Regions from separate parts of the Homo sapiens genome. Here all the other regions are linked to region 3. Evidence: promoter capture Hi-C in 16 types of primary human blood cells and fetal thymus (Javierre and others, 2016). All regions are on one chromosome and are shown on one strand. Each heading gives the region's core, a stretch centred on a gene start or on the middle of the fragment in contact. The rest is flanking DNA. Distances are from core to core; before and after follow the strand shown.

The links. Contacts are between HindIII fragments. The CHiCAGO score rates a contact against its expected background, and 5 or more counts as called.
Region 1: a contact is called between a fragment that was not itself captured here and the fragment with the promoter of AKR7A2 in region 3, in 4 of 17 cell types (non-activated CD4 T cells, erythroblasts, activated CD4 T cells and 1 more). The highest score is 6.1, in non-activated CD4 T cells.
Region 2: a fragment that was not itself captured here is called in contact with the fragment with the promoter of AKR7A2 in region 3 in 1 of 17 cell types (erythroblasts); the score reaches 5.3 in erythroblasts.
Region 4: a contact is called between a fragment that was not itself captured here and the fragment with the promoter of AKR7A2 in region 3, in 2 of 17 cell types (total CD4 T cells and naive CD4 T cells). The highest score is 7.1, in total CD4 T cells.
Region 5: a fragment that was not itself captured here is called in contact with the fragment with the promoter of AKR7A2 in region 3 in 1 of 17 cell types (total CD8 T cells); the score reaches 5.0 in total CD8 T cells.
Region 6: a fragment that was not itself captured here is called in contact with the fragment with the promoter of AKR7A2 in region 3 in 2 of 17 cell types (neutrophils and activated CD4 T cells); the score reaches 6.7 in neutrophils.
Region 7: a contact is called between a fragment that was not itself captured here and the fragment with the promoter of AKR7A2 in region 3, in 4 of 17 cell types (neutrophils, fetal thymus, monocytes and 1 more). The highest score is 7.1, in neutrophils.

What each region holds. Positions count from the first base shown.
Region 1 is chr1:19,643,801-19,646,560 of GRCh38, forward strand. All of the region lies in intron 1 of MICOS10-NBL1 (MICOS10-NBL1 readthrough), which reads left to right. It overlaps NBL1 (NBL1, DAN family BMP antagonist), which reads left to right and starts at 511. Exons shown (of 4, transcript NM_005380.8): 1 at 511-646. RefSeq lists an enhancer at 1-358 and a silencer at 257-596. The HindIII fragment of the contact is 7,360 bases long and covers 1-2,760 here.
Region 2 is chr1:19,624,958-19,628,003 of GRCh38, forward strand. All of the region lies in intron 1 of MICOS10-NBL1 (MICOS10-NBL1 readthrough), which reads left to right. MICOS10 (mitochondrial contact site and cristae organizing system subunit 10) reads left to right here. Exons shown (of 4, transcript NM_001032363.4): 4 at 1,430-3,046. The coding sequence ends at 1,444. Among named protein-coding and RNA genes, the nearest start is that of NBL1, 18 kb to the right of the region's middle. The HindIII fragment of the contact is 1,431 bases long and covers 668-2,098 here.
Region 3 is chr1:19,310,595-19,313,582 of GRCh38, forward strand. AKR7A2 (aldo-keto reductase family 7 member A2) reads right to left here and starts at 1,550. Exons shown (of 7, transcript NM_003689.4): 1 at 1,233-1,550. The coding sequence starts at 1,530. It overlaps SLC66A1 (solute carrier family 66 member 1), which reads left to right and starts at 1,732. Exons shown (of 8, transcript NM_001040125.2): 1 at 1,732-2,295. RefSeq lists an enhancer at 1,141-1,640 and silencers at 1,232-1,871, 1,952-2,041. The HindIII fragment of the contact is 20,070 bases long and covers 1-2,988 here.
Region 4 is chr1:19,704,826-19,707,625 of GRCh38, forward strand. All of the region lies in intron 13 of TMCO4 (transmembrane and coiled-coil domains 4), which reads right to left. Among named protein-coding and RNA genes, the nearest start is that of HTR6, 41 kb to the left of the region's middle. The HindIII fragment of the contact is 1,060 bases long and covers 817-1,876 here.
Region 5 is chr1:19,737,202-19,740,097 of GRCh38, forward strand. TMCO4 (transmembrane and coiled-coil domains 4) reads right to left here. Exons shown (of 16, transcript NM_181719.7): 12 at 2,623-2,759; 13 at 171-255. Among named protein-coding and RNA genes, the nearest start is that of TMCO4, 61 kb to the right of the region's middle. The HindIII fragment of the contact is 1,089 bases long and covers 893-1,981 here.
Region 6 is chr1:19,576,632-19,579,428 of GRCh38, forward strand. No RefSeq gene overlaps it. Among named protein-coding and RNA genes, the nearest start is that of MICOS10-DT, 19 kb to the right of the region's middle. The HindIII fragment of the contact is 3,214 bases long and covers 1-2,797 here.
Region 7 is chr1:19,594,339-19,597,271 of GRCh38, forward strand. MICOS10-NBL1 (MICOS10-NBL1 readthrough) reads left to right here and starts at 2,641. Exons shown (of 4, transcript NM_001204089.2): 1 at 2,641-2,771. It overlaps MICOS10 (mitochondrial contact site and cristae organizing system subunit 10), which reads left to right and starts at 2,641. Exons shown (of 4, transcript NM_001032363.4): 1 at 2,641-2,771. The coding sequence starts at 2,708. MICOS10-DT (MICOS10 divergent transcript) reads right to left here and starts at 2,494. Exons shown (of 2, transcript NR_135054.1): 1 at 2,372-2,494. RefSeq lists an enhancer at 2,434-2,733 and a silencer at 2,854-2,933. The HindIII fragment of the contact is 1,026 bases long and covers 1,003-2,028 here.

The DNA of each region.
Region 1 (2,760 bases), core at 239-2,738, 330 kb after region 3:
AGGTGCACCGCAGAACTGGGGACTCCTGGTGCCGGGACGCGGCGGGCTGGGGCGCCCCACTCTCGGGGCAAGTCTGCAATGCCCGGTGCCCACAAAAAGGACACATCCATCTTTGTCACCCCGAGGCCTGGCACGGCCTGACGGCCCAGGCTCGGTAAAAGTCGGGCGGAGAGAGTGGAAGCGCAGAGAAACCCGGGGAGGGCGCTTAAGAACGGGCCAGGGCGCCCGGCTGGGCTGCCCTGCCTCTCGGGCGCCGGCCAGGCGTCCCGGCCGCCCCACCACGCCGTCGGAGCGCGCCGAAGCTCAGCCCGGGGCGGGCGGGCCAGGAGAGGGCCCGGGGCCCCTGCCGCCGCGGCGCCCCCTCCTGCGCACCCGGAGGGAGAGGCCGCGCGCGCCCGCCCGCTCTTTCTGCGCGCGGCCCTCCCCGCTGCCCCCGCCCTCGCGCCCTGTTTGGAGGGAGCCACCCTGACGTCGGAGCCGCTCCCCCGCGCCGCGCGCCCGCCCGGGGCCGCAGACAGCGCGCAGCGCAGCCCAGCCGAGCGTCGCGGGGCCGCCCCCCGCCCTGCCGGCCGCCTCGCCGAGCCTCCTGGGGCGCCCGGGCCCGCGACCCCCGCACCCAGCTCCGCAGGACCGGCGGGCGCGCGCGGTAAGTCCCGCCCGGGTCGGCACGCGGGCGCCCGGCTTCCAGAGGCTTCGGCCGCGGGGGCAGTGCCGCGCCCCCAGCCCGGAGCTGCGTCCCCCGGCGCGTCCGGCGGCCGCGGGCACCGGGTGGAGGCGCCGCCGCCGAGCTCAGGAGCCCTGGGGGACCTGGCGGGCGCCTCCGGACGCCGGCGCTGGGGACGTGGGCGCGGCACGGGGTGGCCGGGGGGCACCGCCGCGTCCGGAGCCCGTCCCCAGACTCGCCCCAGGGTTCCGTTTCTGGATCGGAGTTTCCGCGGCCGGGGGAGAGAGGGAGCGAGGGAGGGAGATGCGTGGCCGGGCGGGCCGGGCTCGCATGTCCCCCGGCCGTGCCCGGGCCTCGCCGCGCCGCGCCTCTCGGCTCTGGACGTTTCCGCCTCCCGCGGCCCCCTCTGCTTCGGTCCCCACGTCCGTGTGTCTGTCTCTCCGTCGCTCCGTTTCCGCCGCTCACTTTCCCCTGGTCTGCCCGTCTCTTTCCGTTCCCCGCCTGCCTCCGTGTTCGGCTGCCCGCGTTTGTGTCTCTGCCTCTGGCTTTTCTCTCCCTCTCTCTGTCTCTGCGCTGCCCTCTGTGGGGGTCTCGCCCTGTGTCTGCGCCTCTCCCTGATCCCCCGCCCTCCGATCCAGACAATCCCCCAGTGTCGGAGGCTCGCCTTCCCCCAGCGGGGTTCACGAATAGTTTCCTAGACCGGGTGCGGCAAACCCTCCCCCTGCCTCCCGCCGGCCCCGAGGCCTGGCCCGGGTCATCTCCCTGGAATTGAGTCTGGGGCAGGGAGAGCCAGCCTTTCCGGGGGCTCAGTTTTCTTAAGAATTCCACCCCCGCGAGGCCGGCTGGACGACAGGCCCTGCTGCGGGCCACCTGCCCGGCCCGCTCCCAGGGCGGGGCGATTCTGATCGTTTACAAGCGGCGGCAAAGGGGGCAGCCGCCTGCCTTGGCGTGGCCGGAGGTTGGCGGGCATCAAGGGAGAAAGCCACACTTCCAGGCTTTCGGAGGCCCTCGCTCCCCAAGCTGGACGCCACCAGCCTGTAACTAGGGGCACCCCAGGAAAACAGAGGTCAGGGCTGGAGGCCAAAGACCGGGCGCTGGCGGGGAAGCAATTTGTCAACAAGGAGCCCCTCACCCTTTGTTACTGCGGAATGGGGCCTCCCTAGACTCCCCCAGATGCTGGGGCTGCTTGGGCGTGGTTTGCCTTGAGTTGGGGCCAAAGAAAAGGCGAGGCTGCAGCGTTTCCTCGGTGACCCCTACCCCTCTCCACCCACCCCTGCAAGCTGGACCTCTCTCCCGGGCCTGTGTTTTGGAGGGGTGGACAGGGGAGTAGGTGTTCTGCATCGGCCAGGGATATCGCCTCATTATTTTAAAGTGAAATTTCAGGCTGAGTTTAGCTGCTTCCCCCCACCCACAACCTCAAGGGTCGGAGGCTGCCGGAGCGGGCAGGGTTGTTGGTGAGGTCTGCAGTGGAACTTCTGCTGAGCAGATGTGCAGCCTGGCCCTGCAGCAGCTCATTAGCATGGATTTGTTTTGGAGACTGTTTTTCGTTTGCGGGCAGGAGGGTCTGCGGTAAGGAGGGCCGTGGCCTGGGTTTGGGGGCTGGCACAGAGGTGGTCAGGGCTGGAAGATGCAGGCAGGCCTGGGTGGCACGGGGTCGGCCCTGTGTGTCCGCCCTCTGGACAGTTGACTCATGCTCTCCCCAGTGCTGAAGGAAGGAAGGAAAAGCCACCCTGCCGTGAGACTGGGGTCGTGGAATCACAGCGGCCTTAAGCAGTATGCTGGAGCCAGGCTCCTCCCTGGGGGATCTGCTGAAATGGACGTTCCCAGGCCAGGCTGCCCATTTTACAGATGCAAACGTGAAGCTGAGGGGGGAAGCAAATGGTCAGTGGCTCGAGCTATAACCATTAGACTCTCCTGACTCCAGGCACACAGAAAGCCAATGTATGAGCTTTGGCCAGAACTCATCCTCAAACCCCAGAGTGAGCCCAGGAAACCCGGTTGGGCTGACCAGAGCCGGGGCCTGACCTGGGTGAGCAGGGAGCCCCAAGCCTGACACTGCCTTGCCCCTTCACAGAGCAACAATTTCAGTTGCACCA
Region 2 (3,046 bases), core at 133-2,632, 310 kb after region 3:
TTTCCAGGTTACTCTTGGGCTAGAATCACTGTGAACGGGGCTGCAGTGGGGCTAGTGGAAAGGGCACAGAAGCCAGGAGACCTAGGTGCAAGCCTGTCACTTGCTTCCTGTGTGATCTTAAGTTGTTTCACTTCTGAGCTTCCATTTTCCTCCATAAAATGAGGGTAATAATTTCTACCTATAGTGTTGTTGTGAGATTTAGACACAAAATGTTTTTAAGCTGTGAAGTACGAAATATATAAAAACATTGGTTATTATAGATGAGGCCAGCCCAAAAAGGGTGATTGACTTGTCCATTGTTCCACTGTAACAACAAGTAGAGTGGAAAATGTGGTACAAATGCATGTCCTAATTCTAGTCAGGAGCTGTGGCCACAAGGGCCACCAAATCCAAAGTAGCAGTATCCTGCCACGGCCCTGCACCTGCCATTTTAGAACCTGCTGAAACCGTCAGCTGCCTGCAGCCAGCCCATGTCTGCTGGAGAGATGGGAGTAGGGGAGCCATCTCTGCACCAAAGCAAGAGTGAGGTCATCACAGGGACCATGCAAGAAGAGGCGCAGCTGTGTGGCACTGAAGCCGGCAGCCGGCCTTTTCCACCACTCCCTGGCTCCTCGCTTTCCTGGCATCAGAGCTGATTGTGGGGAGAACCGAAAGGAGCAGACAGAGAAGCTTCAGGTCTTTTGCTTAAAACATTTCCATTGTTCCAAACTGAGTTGTCAGGGATAATGGCTCAGGGGTGATTATATGCATATTATGTATTTAATGGCTGGGAGTTCCTGTGGAAAATATTGTTCCATTTTTTACATTTGTGTGTCCTGCTCCAAAATGGCCTTGTAACTTTATCTGGACTTGAGTCTGTGCCTCGATGTTGTCATCCTCCATTCCCTGAAAAATGGAGCAAAATCCCAACCTGGGCTTATTCAGTGTAGTCCTATTGTAATAACTGCCTCCTGAGTGCCCAATCTGCCCCCAGGACCATCCTGGGTGCTTTATCTTTAATAATCTTTCCCTCTAGACCTGCCAGTTGATTTGTGAGAGATGTTACTATCCTCATTCAGCTGATGAGAAAGCAGACTCTTACCGGGGTTGAGAAACTTGGCAAGGCCATGTAGTTCGTAGGCTGATGAGAACCATGCTCTCCCCACTCCCCTGGGACGCCTTCGACAGGTTTTAGGAATTGTTATCCAGGTCATGATGGTTTGGCCCTGTTCCACTCGTTTCCCACTCTTCTCCCTGGAAGATTGGGGCTGGATGGCACTCTTAGGAACCTAGGTAGGGTGTACATAGTCCTGTTGTGAGACAGTTTTAACGTAAACAGTGTGATAAGGTTTTGGCTTCTGGCCCTTTGGGTCTGACCTGATACAGCAATTAGAGAGGGTTGTCAGAATGCCGTCTGCACAGTTTTAAGCTGAATGTCCTTGCTTTACAGGAGCAGGAGCAGTGACTTCACCTGAGAACATCCCAGCGGGAGGACAAGAGAAATCATGTTTATTCCTCAGGAATACTGAAGTGCCCTGGAGTAAGCTGCCATTCTTCTGTAACAATGTTATCAGTAATGCTTTAAACTCCAGCACCTGGTTATGCATTTGAAACCAAGTCTGTTTCTTGTTTTGTATTTTCTCTCTGGAAGTTGTAAGGAGGTGGTCTTAAATAAATTAAACAAAAAGAGGAAGTCCATTGCATGGCCTTTGTTTCTTCACCTTTGGTCTCTGAGCATGAGGAGGACTGTGTGTGAACTGCCAGCAGCTGTAGCCACCTGCTCACAGCCTCTCTGAGAACCCCCTGAAACCAGTTGTTGGGTATCCTTCCCATTTGCCCCCTCAGGCGTAGTTTTCAGAACTGCTTCCACCTCGTAATCAGAAGTTGAAGATTGCTGCTGCGTGGCCTGATGGAGATGACTGATGTCTTAAGGCGCCTTTCCTTCTGTGGCACCTCTTCGTGTGTTCTCACCTGGGGACCTGGCAGGGCACATCTCCGCTGTGCCTACTGCAAGGCGGTCCCACTGCTGCTGTATTAGCAGGGGAAGAATCCTGGCTGTGTGGATGGCCCACTCCATTGAAGTCAAGTCCTGCAGCTTCATAGAGCTTGAGACAGTCCAAGCTTCAGCTCTGGAGGGCGGAGGAAAGCTCATGGCATACCCACCTGGCCGGAGGAGCCCGATTGGGGTTAATTTTATCTTCACGTAGCAGCTGAAGTTTGAGGACAAAAGGGCCACTTCTGATGCCCCTCTGAGTTTGTTCCTGTGGTTTCACTTGAACCAGGGATGCTAGATGCAAAAGTCATATTTTAGCAATTTCTTCAGACGATATACAGAACCCCAGCGCTCAGCCGTTCTTATTTCTTTTTCCTTATCGTAGAATTAAGATAGGGAGAGCCCGATCCCACTTGCCCCTGTATCCTGTAAATGTTGATTTATCATCTACTGTAAGCGAGGCACTGTTGTAAGCAGCAGAGATAAATGGATAAATAGACACAGGCTTCTGCCTTCAAGGAGCTTAGAGTCTGATGGAAAGACAGACGTGCAAACACAACTCTGAAAGAAGTGTTTTAATGGAGAAGAGAGGTGTAGGCAAAGTACACTGAGAACAAAGGAGAAGGAGCAACTATGTCTCCCTAGGATGGCCCCACAGGCGACGGAATGCCTGCGCTGGGACCCGAAGTTGACTGGGAATCCCAGACAGAAGGAGGGTAGCCTCTGTGTTTGCTCAGGATCATGTAATGCATATTATAGCTGGGAAATCGCAAGTAGTTCAGCATAGCCAGGGTGTGTAGGGGCAGGGGAAAGGCATGGAGGGGGAGGCTGGGCAATAGGGTACAACTCATGTCTGACTCCAGTTCTGGAACATTGATTAGACCTTAGTTCTTGCAAGTGCTATAGTGAGTACATTCAGGGTAGCAAATACCCTCCCTCAGCCTCCCCACTCCCTTTTCCAGAAAGGTCTGCTAGGCTCTGCCCTGCAAACTGTCCAGGCTCCTCTGCCCTCTGGGCTTGTTTTCCTCTTTATTGCTACTTGGCTGTTTTTCACTTGGTCCTCTTCATTCTATG
Region 3 (2,988 bases), core at 300-2,799:
GGCTGAGGCAGAGGTTGCAGTGAGCTGAGATCGTGCCATTGCACTCCACCCTGGGTGACAGAGCAAGATTCCGTCTCAAATAATAATAATAACAAAAACAACAACATGCAGCCAGGTGAACTAGAAACAGCGTGGGCCTGAGATTCACATTTGCCCTCTTTTCCCCCCGACCCCCCAAGCGCTATGACTCAGGAGGACCCAGAGAGAACCTCTCCTCAGGGGTGGGGAGCAACAGCCTCAGGATAGTCCAGTGGGTGAAGCATGGTAAGGGTAACAGCCCACGTTCCCTGGGCCCTCACTGAGTGCCAGGCACCCTCCCAAGGGCTATCAAGGGCACCAGGCTCACGAGGGACAGTCCCCTCCATCCTCCACTCAAGCCCCACCTGCCCAGTGGCCTTCCTTTCACACATCACGCACATTGCATTTCCAAACCAAGTCTTTGCACAGACTCTAATGTTCCTTTCTCTTGTTCTCCTCCAACCTACCATTGAGCCTTTAAGGCTGAGCTCCATCCAGCATTTGCTGAGCCTTCCCTAGTGCCTCTCCCCGGCCTGCAGCTCCCTAAAGTACTCTCTCTTCTGGGCTCTCCAGCAATCATTACTTCAATCTTCCTCATTAGACTCTGAACTCCCTGTGGAGGGCTGGAATCACTTTCCCTCCTATGGCCCCAAGTCAAAGCCTGGCATAGAGTGGATAGAAAGTCCCTACACCCTGACCCGTCCGCACTCCCTAACACTCCTACTCTCCCAGCCAGCCTTACGGCATCGCCACAGTTCTCCCTGAGAGAGGCAGAGGTACTGCCAGCTGCACAGGTCAAATTCTAGTGGTTAAGAAAAGGCCAGGATGAGAAAAGGGTGCCCAGGGTGTGCATGCGTGATGATGGTAACGAAGGGGTAGAGAAAAGGGGGAGAGCCTGGGTGGGGACCGGTTGTGGGCACCTGGCAGGTTTGGAGGCGGGGGCATCAATGGAGGTGGGAAGCGATGGGTCAGACCAGGCTGGGGGGAGACTCTCGCGCTGCAACTCCCAAGGGAAGGAGAGTGGGGGAAAGGAGTCAGGGCAAAGCACTGTCTAGTTGTCCCGGGGTTCCCAGAGCTGCGGGGTGGACCTGGGGTGGGGAGCGAGGGACGAATCCGTCGGTGCTGCCCGCGGCCGGGCCCGAGCGGGGTGGTGCACGGCTGGGGACAGGCTCAGCTCTACACGATGCATGGGGAGGATCTGCAGCTACTGTTACCTCTGCAGTCGCCACCGCCCAGCCCGAGCCCCAGGCCGCCCAGGATGGTCTCGGACTGGCCGTCGCTGTACATGAAGGCCGTGTCCAGTTCGGTGTGGCCGCGCTCCAGAAAGGCGCGCACGGCCGCGGCGCTGGCGGGCGCGTCCATGCGGCGCCCCATCTCCATGGTGCCCAGCACCGAGGCGACCCGCGGTGGCGGTGGCCGGGACATGGCGAGCGCGCGGGCCTCGGGCGGCGGAGAGCGAAGCGCGCAGTGGACGGCGGCGCGGGAGACTACGCGAGACGCGGCACTCAGCATAGCAGCGGCGCCTGCGCGTTGGGAGCCGGGGGCCCCGCCCATGCCGGGGAGGAGCGCGGAGGCAGTTGGGGGCGGGGACAACAGGCGCGGCCCCAGCGGCGCCTCCAGGCCCGGTCAGCCCAGCGCGCGGCGTGGGGGCGGGGCCTGCGGTTCCCGCGGGGGCGGTGGCGCGCGGTCAGCTGACCCGGCGGGCCTTGACCCAGAAGCTGGGCCCTGGCGGCGGATCTGGACGTGGTGAGCCGGACCGGGGGCAGGTGGCAAACTTCACGGCTGGGGGTCGGGGCTCCTGGGCTTCCCTGCCACATCCTTCCAGCCCTCTCCTCCGGCCGCTGGACTGTCCCGGCTCCTGCGCCCTCCTTGTGGCGCGATATCGTGGGACGAGGCTCCGGGCCGGGACTGGGTGGCCCTCGGGAATCCGCAGCCAGTGGCCCCCCACCTCAAAGGCGACCAGCGCGGCCTCTCGAGCTGGCCTGGCCAGGAGTTGCCCTGCCCCGGCCGACCGGCCCCTTGGCATCTGATGGCTTCGTTTTTCCCGGGCCGGCCGGGCGAGGGGCCCTCGCGGCGCTGGCCCCAGCAGCTGTCCTATCATTATCCCTCCAAACAGGCGGCCCGCGCCGGGCTGAGTCACCAGGAGGGAGCTGTGGCCGAGGACGCCGAGGCCTGGAGTGGGTGGTAGCCCCGAGCTGGGACGCTCCTCCCTCCACAATCTCCCCAGGTCTGCAGGGACCGAGGGCCTACACTGCCTCCTCCCACGCCGTGCTTAGGGTAGGTTTCCAAACGTGTAAATGGAGAGTCTGAGTCTGGAAGTGTGAGGGGTCCCGGGCCTGGGTCACAGGTCATGTCTAATCAACGCTTACTGAAGGCGCCTGTGTGCCCGGACGCTGGAGGGGCTACAATGAGAACAAATAATAGTCATTTTGGGCTGTTGGTGTTGAGTGCCAGTGCCAGGCACCCTTGTAATCGCTTGGCCTGGATTGTCTCATTTAACTCTGCAGTCAGCCTAGGTGGTGGGTATTGCATTATTCCCCTACTTTTCAGATGAGAACTACGAAGCTCAATCACTTGAGTTCCAGACTGGTAGGCATCGGGCAGGTCTGTTCCAGAGTGCTTTTCTCCTCAACCCTGGGCTGTTCGAGCTCACAGCTTTCTCCCCTTCCTTTCTCCTTTCCTTCCTCTTCTCTCTCTTCCACCCTTTCTCCTTTCTCACCCGTTTCCTCTCTTCTTCACTCTGTCCTTCTCTCTACCTCTCTCTTTCTCTCACTGTCTCTCAACATTTGCTGAACCTCTAGGTGTGTTTACACCTGGAGAATAAGAAATGCACAACCCAGGGTGGGGAGAGTACGTTTCAAAGACAGTGGTCGCAGAGGACGGTGGTAGCGTTCTTCAGGTGTGTGGACAAGGGGAGAGGAGGAGGTGGAAGGTCCTGTCCAGCCAGCTCTCATGGGGCATCTTTGAAAG
Region 4 (2,800 bases), core at 97-2,596, 390 kb after region 3:
GACTCGTAGTTGAACCCCATAAAATAGTCCTGAGCACAGCCAAACCAAGCTGGCAACACATTTACCCATCTCTGAAGCTGGGCTGGCAGCTGCCTAGCTGGGACCCTCCCCCTTTCCTCCTTAGACCACTGCCATGCCCAGATGTACCCTTAGATTTTAAAGATTTGCTCTCTTTGTCGCTGCTGACCTGGAGATAAGCTACGTGGCAGGCTCTCAGCAATGCATGGTGTTAGCTAAGGGCGGTTGGCAAGAACCACCTTAGACCAGGGGTGTCCAATCTTTTGGCTTCCGTGGGCCACATTGGAAGAACTGACTTGAGCCACACATAAAATACACTAACACTAGGCGGGCACCGTGGCTCACACCTGTAATCCCAGCACTTTGGGAGGCTGAGGCGGATGGATCACCTGAGGTCAGGAGTTTGAGACCAGCCTGGCCAACATGGCAAAAACCTGTCTCTACTAAAAATACAAAAATTAGCCAGGCGTGGTGGTGGGTGCCTGTAGTCCCAGCTACTCGGAAGGCTGAGGTAGGGGAATCGCTTGAACCCAGGAGGCGGAGATTGCAGTGAGCTAAGATGGTACCACTGCACTCCAGCCTGGGCGACAGAGACAGACTCCATCTCAAAAATAAATAAATAAATAAATAAACAAATAAATAAAAATAAATTAACACAATAGTCGATGAGATAAAAAAATAAAAAAAAGAATTGCAAAAAAAAAAACAACTCATGTTTTAGGAACGTTACTAATTTGTGTTGAGCTGCATTCAAAGCCATCCTGGGTGGCATGTGGCCAGCAGGCCACTGGTTGGACAAGCTTGCCTTAGACCCACCCAAGGTAGATATGGATAGGCAGTCAGAGCCCATTACCACCTGACTGTTCCTAGAACGGGATGGTGTAGGAGGGGAAACCTATTTAGGTTAGGAAAAAGACGATACTGGCTGCTGTCATAGCTGCTGGAAAGGAAAAAAAAAAACAGTCAAAATCCACTGTTTGGTTCAAAACCTTATAATACTAGAATAATTCAGCCTTCCAGGTAAACTACGGAAAATCCTCACTCGGGTACCACTTTTTAATTTAATTTAAATTTTGAGACAGGGTCTCCCTCTGTTGCCCAGGCTGGAGTGCTGTGGCGCAATTGTGGCTCACTGCAGCCTCGACCTCACAGGCTCAAGTGATTCTCCTACCTCTGCCTCCCAAGTAGCTGGGACTACAGGTGTCTGTCATCATCACACCTGGCTGATTTGTTAAATTTTAGTAGAGATGAGGTCTTGCTATGTTGCCCAGGCTGGTCTCAAACTCCTGGACTCAGGTAATCCTCCCACCTTAGCCTCCTAAAGTGCTGGGATTTATAAGAGTGAGCCACCGCATCTGGCCCAGGTACCACTTGCAGTGTCAAGCAAGTCCCTTCCACAGGGACAGAAAATCCTTCAGATCATCATGTGGATTCAGTGTAGAATGCCCCCGGTTTTCAAGACCGACAAAAGAAACTGAGATTTAAACATTTCAATAATAATGGATATGAGAAGACCTCACTGCCCTTTCACTGCATGGACAATGAGTGTTTGCTGAAACATGTTTGGGATTTATTCCTACCGCTACCATCAGCTTTTCTTCTTGTAAATTTTCAAGACATTAGGAGAGCCCTATATAGCTTTAGAAATATTCAGACTTTTTATGTAAAAGAGGGCAGGGATTAACTTCAAGTTCAGGAGTCGAGTCATAGACATGTAGAGCGTTTATGCTTGCATTTCTCATTTTTAAACAGTTCTCGCTAAGTTATTAATATCCTATTTTTACTGTGAGAGCTGAAGGCCTTTCATCCTATTATAACTTTGGCATTAAGGCAGTTCCAAACCTGCAGTAGTTGGAAAAGCTTCATCAGTCATGTCTTTACCCCTCAGCTCTTAGAACTTATTGTCATTCACATGTGCCGTGAAAAAAAATGTTTCTTTCCAACACTTTCTTTGCCTCTACCTCTTATTGCTATTTTAAACACAGGAGCCCAGCTGATCACTTTACATTCTCAGTCATAGGCATGAGATGTCTTTTTAGATTGATGGAAATGTTCTAAAATTGGATTTGGTGATGATTGCACAGCTCTATATATGTCCTAAAAATCATTAAATTGTGCATTTAAAATGGGTGGGTCTTGTGGTACATAAATTATACTGCAGTGAAGTCAGATCATGTCACCTTTGTGCTTAAAAACCTCCCAGGGGACCCATCTCTCATGGAGTCAAAGTTAAAGTCATTGCAATGGCCTCGAAGCCCTGCCTGACCTTCCCTTCATTCTCTGTGCTCCAGCCACACTGGCCTTGCTGTTCCCTCTTTGAAATGGTTTGGACGTTTGTCCCCTCCAGATTTCATGCTGAAATGTGATGTGGGGCCTGGTGGGAGCTGTTTGGGTCATGGGGGTGGATCCTTCATAAATGGCTTGGTGCCCTTCTCTTGGTGATGGGTGAGATCTCAGTTTATTAGTTCATGAAAGATCTGATTACTTAGAGACTGGCAGCTGGGCACGGTGGCTCACACCTGTATTCCCAGTGCTTTGGGAGGCCAAGGTCGGTGGATTGCTTGAGGCCAGCAGTTTGAGACCAGTCTGGCCAACATGGCAAAACCCAGTCTCTACTAAAAACACAAAAATTATCCCGGGGTGGTGGCACATGCCTGTAATCCCAACTTCTTGGGAGGCTGAGGCAGGAGAATCACTTGAACCTGGGAGGAGGAGATTGCAGTGAGCAGAGATCGCACCACTGTACTCCAGCCTGGGCAACAAGAGTGAAACTCTATCTCAA
Region 5 (2,896 bases), core at 187-2,686, 430 kb after region 3:
CCAAGGTTGATGACGATTTTTCTTGATTTTTAAACTATTTTTAACTTTTAACTATTATTTCTAAGAACTGGGAACACATTTTGCAAGGCTCATGGCCCCTGGCCCAGAACATCTGTCCCTGGGAACAAGCTTGTGAAGGGTTTCCGTCTGTGACAATAATCCATGCTCACCTTTCTCTTGAGCCATCTCCTGCAGACAGAAGTAGATGACTCTGGCTCCCAGGCTGAAGCCAATCAAGGTGACAGGTCGTCGCCCCTGAAGGGAAAAAGGACACAGGTGTCTGGAAGGAATACTGCCAGTTCTAGCAAAACATCAGGCCTGAGGAGGGCAGCCTTTGCACATTCCTTACCACCTGATTCTCATCTAATGAATCATGCATGTGCTGTTCCGGTCCCTGAGCGCTGATGTCTTAATCAGCAGAGTCAGGACCCTCATTTATGCAGGAGTGCACCTGCTGCTGGAATTGGCTTCCTCCAAGGCCAACAGGCAGCCCCCGGCTGGGTTAATTCCCTTTCATCTCAAATCATTATCCAGCCACCGTCTCATCTTCCCCAGGAGACAGGGCTAGTCAATTACAAGAGCAACTTCCCTTGCACTGATCTGCCTTGCGGCAAATGGCTGCAGTGCTGCGGGACCCCTTCCGGAGCTGGGGAGATTAGACAGAAGGCACCCCCAGGTGTGAGGGGTAAAAAGGCAAGAGTGACAAGGGAGGGACAACAGTTCAGTTTCTAGATAGGAAGGTGGGGCACAAAATATTGGCTCTAAGTGATAAGATAAGGTAGTAAGTCAGATGGAAAGAGGAATTTTCTGACTCAAGGACTTGTAAGAAAAGGTAACTGATCATGTCAAGACTCTAAAGAAAATGAAAGTTATCTGGGGGTGTTTGGGTACAAGCTTACATGGAAGGAGAGGAGGGGAGTGGATGAGCTCTGGAGGCCCAGCCTGGTTTTACCAGTCTATTCCTTTTCCTTGGTTTTGTGCCAATACACGTATTCCACATCCCCACACCACTCCACTTACCACAGTAGAAAATCCTCTGTTAAACAGTATTCGAATCCTGCAGGAGCTTTGTGCCAACCCTGCTGGCCACTGCCCAATATCATTCTCCCCTTTGTCCTTTACTCCTGAGTTTGACTGGGCACACGGCCACCCAGCCAAAGACGAAGTTTCCCTGACTCCTCCGTAGCTTGAGGTGGCCACAGGGCTGAGACTTAGCACAGGGCAAGGAAAGGGGATCCTCCCTAAGGCATGCATTTTTGCCTTTTGACCTCCAGAGCTGTAAAATAGTACATTTGTTTTCAGCTGGTAAATTTGTGGTAATTTGTAACAGTGGCAGCAGGAAACTAACACATCATCTTGCTCCAGATATTGACACCCAGACTCTTACTTGGGAGAGAACAAAATTCTATCTTGTCTAAGCCAATGCCACTTTGGCCTTTGCCTTAGAGTCAAGCCTGCCGAAGGATTTTCTGTTTCTTTTGACAAAGACGCAGGGATTGAAGGGGGTGGCCAGTTGCTCAAGCAGTTTAGCTGCATGGCAGAAACTGCTAGTTGTCATCCCTCAATATCCATCCTCCCTTTTTTCCATAGTAATTGAATTTCAGCTGGGTTCATCATCACTCAGAATAAATACTATATTTCCCAGCTTCTGTGGCAGCTAGGAATGGTCATGTGACTAGGCTCTGGCCAGTGAGACACCAACTGAAATGTTGTAAGGCTTTGCTGTTTCTTCTTCAGTTCTTCCTTTCTCCTGCTCCCTGGAGCTCGGATGATGCCATCTTTGATACAAGGTCAAGACCCCAGAGCAACAAGGTAGCAGGAACCTGGGCCTCTGCACCATGGAAGGCTATTAGACAACCTTGCTAGGCTTCTCCAGGAAAATAAATTTCTACCTTGTTTAAGCCACTGTTATTTTGGGTTTTCTCCCACTTCCAGCCAAAACAAATCCTGACAATGCAGTCATTTCTGGTACTGCTTCTCAAGCTTTTGTCTCCATTCACTCAAGTTTTATTCTGAAGGGGATGGTTTTATTCTCTTGGTAAGTACATCTTTACTAGATTCAAATTTTAAAAGTATTATGATGATGTCTCTTCCTAACCATTTTACATGGTATTTAGACCACCAAAGATGACCTCACAAAGTAGCTTTATACTTCTGGGAAGGAACACCAGGCCACCAGCATGTGGGAATTCCATTGGTGGCCAGCTGAAGCACCTGGTCTCATTCACTTTACTGGCTTCACTGCAAACTGCGTCAGAGGTTTCCACTGAAATATCACCCAAATGAGCCCAGTGATTATCCTAAACACTTGAATGAAGAGCTGATACATAGGAGCCACTTTTGCTTCTGCCAGAGTCCCCCAGACTTGTTCCTACCTGCAGATGCCCTGTTATTCAGTCCTTACCTAAATACCTGCTAGAGCTGCAGAGTCTATAATTTTTACTGTTCATCCTAGGACACATTCATTACTTGAACTGGAGAGGCAGCAAGGACTGCCCACACCCCCAAAACCATTGAGTTATCTCCAAGTAGCCTTGCCTCTAAGGCTGATATCTGTGAACAAGTCAGCACCTGACTTCCCCTCTTGCTCAATGCCACGCCCACACAGCCATTCCCAGGTACCTGCTGCCGGGAGAGCAGGATGTGGGCCAGGTGCTTGCCAACCTCTGCTGATCGATGGAGACACACCCCCCAGGGGTTGTCGATGACATTGGCGACACTGAGGAGTGAGGCTGGCCAGGTCAGGGCAGCCACAATGCCTGGGGAGGTGAGATAGTGATGAAGGGAATGGCCCCTGTCCTAGGGTCCTACTAGGGAAGTGACTGGCTAACAGATGCTCAAATAAATGCATGCAGTCTCCAACTTGGACCTGCAAGTTTGCCAATCAAACTGCTAA
Region 6 (2,797 bases), core at 46-2,545, 270 kb after region 3:
CCAGTGGAGGATATAGCATCAGGCCGTTCGACCACCACAATCCCCTGAAATGACCTGAGCAGCATATTCAAGTCAGCGCAGGGGTGAGATTTAAAGTTGCCACAAGAGACCCAGAACTGTGGCTCATGCCTGTAATCCCAGCACTTTGGGAGGCCGAGTCAGGAGGATCACCTGAGGCCAGGAGTTCAAGACCAGCCTGGTCAACATGGCAAAACCCCATCTCTACTAAAAATACAAAAAATAAAAAAAAATAGTCGGGCGTGGTAGCGCGCGCATGTAGCCCCAGCTACTCGGGAAACTGAGGCAGGAGAATTGCTTGAACCCGGGAGGCAGAGATTGCAGTGAGCCGAGATTGCACCACTGCACTCCAGTCTGGGTGACAGAGTGAGATTTCATTTCAAAAAAATAAAAAAATAAAGTTGCCACAACATCCCCAGTTTGTCTCTGGAATCCTCCCAGACTACCTCGTTTTTCCACTCTGCTACTCCTTGTTCATAAATTTCTTGGTTCTCAGCTGACTTTGTTTTGGCTTTACATTACGGTTTCTATCCTCCACCCATGTCTTTGCTGGATGATCTGCTGGGCTTGACTCATTCTTCTGGCTCTCAACAACCATATGGATCCACGCCACTGCCTTTGGTCTTTGTTCTTCAATCCCCCACATTGCTCCCAAAGGGAAGAAGCAGTTCATCTGTGGGATCCACTTGATGTGTCTCACCTTTCACCAGGACCACGAGGGGCGTGGGGGCCTGCCAGCTTCAAGATGGCACAATAAAGGCATTTCTGCTACCATCTTTTAAAATCACTCCAAAATAAGCAGTACAATAAATTTAAAAATATGTATATTATTTAGGAAACCAGGAGACAACAGCAGCCCCTAATCATACTAATTGAACCAGAGAGGGAAAGGGCAACACACACCAGGTGGTTCTGATAATGGTGGGTGTTAGGGTATTTAGACTAGACCTTGAAGATAGAGAGTTCTTCAGTGTTTCTTTATTCCCAGAGCTTAGCATAGAACCTGGCCAAATCAAGTCCTCATCAAATACTTGTTGAGTGAATTACATCATTATATATATTTATATCCTATAACAGTTATCAGCACATGAAAACATTTTACTATAAGGAGAACTGTTAGAAATGTTTGCTACATTGCTAAGCGGGGCTTCCGTTCTTTCTCTTGGAGAGAGGACCCTTCTACATCCATAGGCTGAGGAAGAGAACTCTGACTAATACCTTTGCCCTGATGATTAGCATTTCATTGCTTCAATTTTTAAAACATTCACAAAATCTGCTCTTTCATTGGCTCTGTTTCAGTCGTTCATTATTTTAATGTGAACTTGGCTCTTATGGAGGTCAGGACTTGATAATTGCATTCAGCCCTTTGCAATTATTGGTAAGAAACCAGGTAAGAAACCACTGACATTTAATATTTAATTGTTTTTGATCAGCATTAATTAGTCACAGATGCACACCAGATTCCCATTTAATTAAATACTCTTGGGAACATATTTTGGGCTCAGGGATTCTAACCACATCAAAAAATAAGTGTTCAACTTTAAAAGTTGGGCCCCAGAGACCCAGGCATCCATGGAGAGGAAATTCCAGATGTCTAGCATTCTCCCTTTTCTTAGAAATAAACCTTCTACTTCTAGCCCTCTGGAATAGAAAGTCTCGGCATTTCTTTTCTCTTTTATTTTATTTATTTATTTTTTGAGATGGAGTCTCACTCTGTCGCCCAGGCTGGAGTGCAGTGGCACGATCTCGGCTCACTGCAACCTCCACCTCCCAGGTTCAAGCCATTCTCCTTCCTCAGCCTCCCAAGTAGCTGGGACTACAAGCATGCACCACCATGCCCGGCTAATTTTTGTATTTTTAGTAGAGATGGGGTTTCACCATGTTGGCCAGGCTGGTCTCAAACTCTTGACCTCATGATCCACCCACCTTGGCCTCCCAAAGTGCTGGGATTACAGGCGTGAGCCACCAGGCCCGGCCTCTTTTATCCTTTTTTTGTTTGTTTGTTTGTTTTTTTGAGACAGAGTCTTCCTCTATCGCCCAGGCTGGAGTGCAGTGGTGCGATCTCAGCTCACTGCAGCCTCTGCCTTCTGGGTTCAAGTGATTCTCCTGCCTCAGCCTCCCAAGTAGCTGGGATTACAGGCACTTGCCACCACGCTCAGCTCATTTTTGTATTATTAGTAGAGACGGGGTGTCACCATGTTGGCCAGGCTGGTCTCGAACTCCTGACCTCAAGTGATCCACCCACCTCGGCCTCCCAAGGTGCTGGGATTACAGGCATGAGCCACAGTGCCTGGCCCTCCTCTCTCTTCTTGCATCATCAGTTTTACCCTCTTTACTGAATCATTCCCATCCACATACAAACATGAGCAAGTTCTCCCATTCTAAAAAAACCCACTGTCAAACCCACCCCTTCTCAAACTATTGCCCTTTTTCGTCCCTCTTTGGAAATAAACTTCTAGAAAAGATTGTGTGCACTTGCTGCCTCCAGCCCCTCTCCTCCTAGTCTCTCTCAAACACACTGCATTTGGACTTTGGCTCCAACTACTCCATGGAGACCGTCCTTGTCAATGTCTCTAAAATTACCTTTCTGATGTTAAGACCAATGGCCACTTCTCCACCCTCTTTCATTTGGCCCAGTTAATCATGTTGTCTTTCTTGAAACACTTCATTTGGCTTCCAGGAGACCATTTTTTCTTGGTTTTCCTCCCGTCCATGTTCCTTCCTTCTCATTTTTCTTTGCTGATTTACCCTGATCTCCCTAGCCTCTAAATGTTAGGTG
Region 7 (2,933 bases), core at 266-2,765, 280 kb after region 3:
AAATTTAAAGAATAGGAAAAATAGGGCTGGGCATGATGGCTCAAGCCTGTAATCCCAGCACTTTGGGAGGCTGAGGTGGGTGGTTCACCTGAGGTCAGGAGTTCAAGACCAGCTTGGCCAACATGGTGAAACCCCATCTCTACTAAAAATACAAAAATTAGCTGGGGGTGGTGGCACGTGCTTGTAATCCCAACTACTCAGGTGGCTGAGACAGGAGAATCTCTTGAACCTGGGAGGCAGAGGTTGCAGTGAGCCAAGATCATGCCACTGCACTCCAGCCTGGGTGACAGAGCAAGACTCTGTCTCAAAAAAAAAAAAAAAAAGAAAGAATAATTTAAAAAAATAGAGAACTAGGAGAAGGGAAGGGTGGTCATAGAAGTTATCTTGAAGGAAGAGGCTGTCGTAGCAAGATCTGATACAACAGAGTTTTGCTGTCATAGTTGCAAATAAATAGTTGAACGATGCCTGTAATCCCAGCACTTTGGGAGGCCAAGGTGGGTGGATCACTTGAGGCCAGGAGTCAAGACCAGCCTGGCCAATATGGCGAAACCCCATCTCTACTAAAAAAATACAAAAAGTTAGCCAGGCGTGGTGGTGGGCGCCTGTAATCCCAGCTATTTTGGAGGCTGAGGCAGAAGAATTGCTCAAACCCAGTAGGCAGAGGTTGCAGTGAGCCGAGATCGTGCCACTGCACTCCAGCCTGGGCAACAGAGCGCGACTCTCTCTCAATAAATAAATAAACAAATAAATAGGTGAATAAATTCAATTCAGTTCAACAAATATTTCATAGAAGACCCTACTATCCAAGGCATTGTGCTCTGACTGGAAGTATGAAGACGAAGGGGCAACTTCTAGTTCTACTAGCAGATAATATCTACAACCAGATGTTTCAGTACTAGATAGAGAAATCAATGCGGGTAGGCAGGGTAGTGGGACAATGAGAAGGGGAAGGCAGCTCTAAGCTCTATCTGACTAGGCTTCCTAGAATCAGTGCAGTGTTGAAGCTTGGATAGATCCAGTGTATGAATGGGAGTCATTGACAGCTTTTTTTTTTTTTCTTTTGTGATAGGGTATCACTCTGATGCCCAGGCTGGAGTGCAGTGGCATGAACATGGCTCAGTGTAGCCTCCACTTCCCAGGCTCAAGTGATCCTCCTACCTCAGCCTCCTAAGTAGCTGGGACTAAAGGCACACATCACATTAGCCTGGCTAATTTTTTAAATTTTTTGTAGAGACAGGAGTCTCACTATGCTGCCTAGGCTGGTCTTGAACTACTGGCCTCAAACAATCCTCCCGCCTCAGCCTCCCAGAGTGTTGGGATTACAGGTGTGAGCCACTGCTCTCGGCCTTCATTGACAGCTTCTAATCAGAGGCATAACGTGGTCAGATTTCTATTTGTTGGTAGGATGGAAGACTAAAATCAATGACACTAGCCAGTAGGCTGGATATACAATCTCTCTTGATAGCTGTGGGCATTTGGTTTCAGGATCTCGCAGTTACCAAAATGCAGGATGCTCAAGTCCCATATATAAAATGGCGTGGTATTTGCATACAACCTACACACATGCTTACATATCCTTTTTTAAAATTACTTATTTTTTTTTAAAGAGATGAAGTCGAACTCCTAGTCTCAAGCAATCCTCCCATCTCAGCCTCCCAAGTAGCTGGGACTACGGTCGCATGCCACTGCGCTGGCTCCCATATACTTTAAATCATCTCTAGGTTACTTATAATACCTAATACAATGTAAATCCTAGGTAAATAGTTGTACTGTATTTTAAATTTTGCATTATTTTTTATTTGATTCAAAAATGTTTCTGGTCCATGGTTGGTTAAATCCATGGATGCAAAACCCACAGATACAGAGGGCACCCTGTGTATGTATGTGTATGTGTGTGTGTGTGTGGGTGGGTGTGTAAATATATACATGGATAGGAGGCCTGAGGTAGACGTTTTACCTGGAGATATAATTTGGCAGTGTTTGCAATTACTCAGGGAGAGTCTGTACAGTGAAAAGAGAATTGATGGAAGCTTGCGAACCAACAGTCCTTAAACAGCTGGCAGAGAAAAGGCAGCCCTGGAGGAAACCAACAGACAACAGCAGATGGGGAGAAGAGGAAAGAGTGGCGTTACCGGGAGTGAAACGAATAGAGGAGCCAGGGAGGATCAGAGGGAGGGAAAATTGTGTGGAATGCGGTACAGAGGTCAGAAAAGAGTCCATTTGATTTGGCGGTAGGTAATCTTTCCCAGAGCAGTTTCGGTGTTAGTGGTTCAGGCGGGAATTCCAATGCAAGAAACCAGTGAACGAATGAGAGAGTGAGTAGGGAAAGTGAAGGTGAGTACGTTAATGAATGAATAAATCAAGTCTGTACCCTCTCTTGCCCGGGGGATTTCCAGGGCCAATGTCGCACTTTGGTGAGGAGGAAAGGCCTGGTCACGGCTTGGGGTGACGCCTAGGAAACTGTCAGCCTCGCAAACCCATAGGCGCAGCCCCAAGGTCAGGGTCACCTCGAGCCTCCAGACAACTCGTCACCTTGACGACCAACTGAAAAAACCGGAAGGGATGGAAGCAGCGGATCATCTCGCGATATCTGGAGCGTCTGCGCCTGCCTTCCTGACCTGGGACTTGTTTCCAGCTCTCGCGAGACTTTCAGGGGTCGGAGCGCGGGGGCCGGCCGAGAGGAAAGCTGGAGGCGCGGGTGGGGAACATGTCTGAGTCGGAGCTCGGCAGGAAGTGGGACCGGTGTCTGGCGGATGCGGTCGTGAAGATAGGTAAGGGGCTTTTCGCCCCAGCAGGCCCGGCCGGTGCAGAGCTGCTGGCTCCAGGCTGCGCTGCCCAGGAGGAAGGAAGGGAAGCCCCACGGGAGGTCAGGCCTCTCGGCCTTTTCCGGCCCCTCCGGCCAGGGCGAGCCGCCCGGGCCCCGGCGGGAGGTC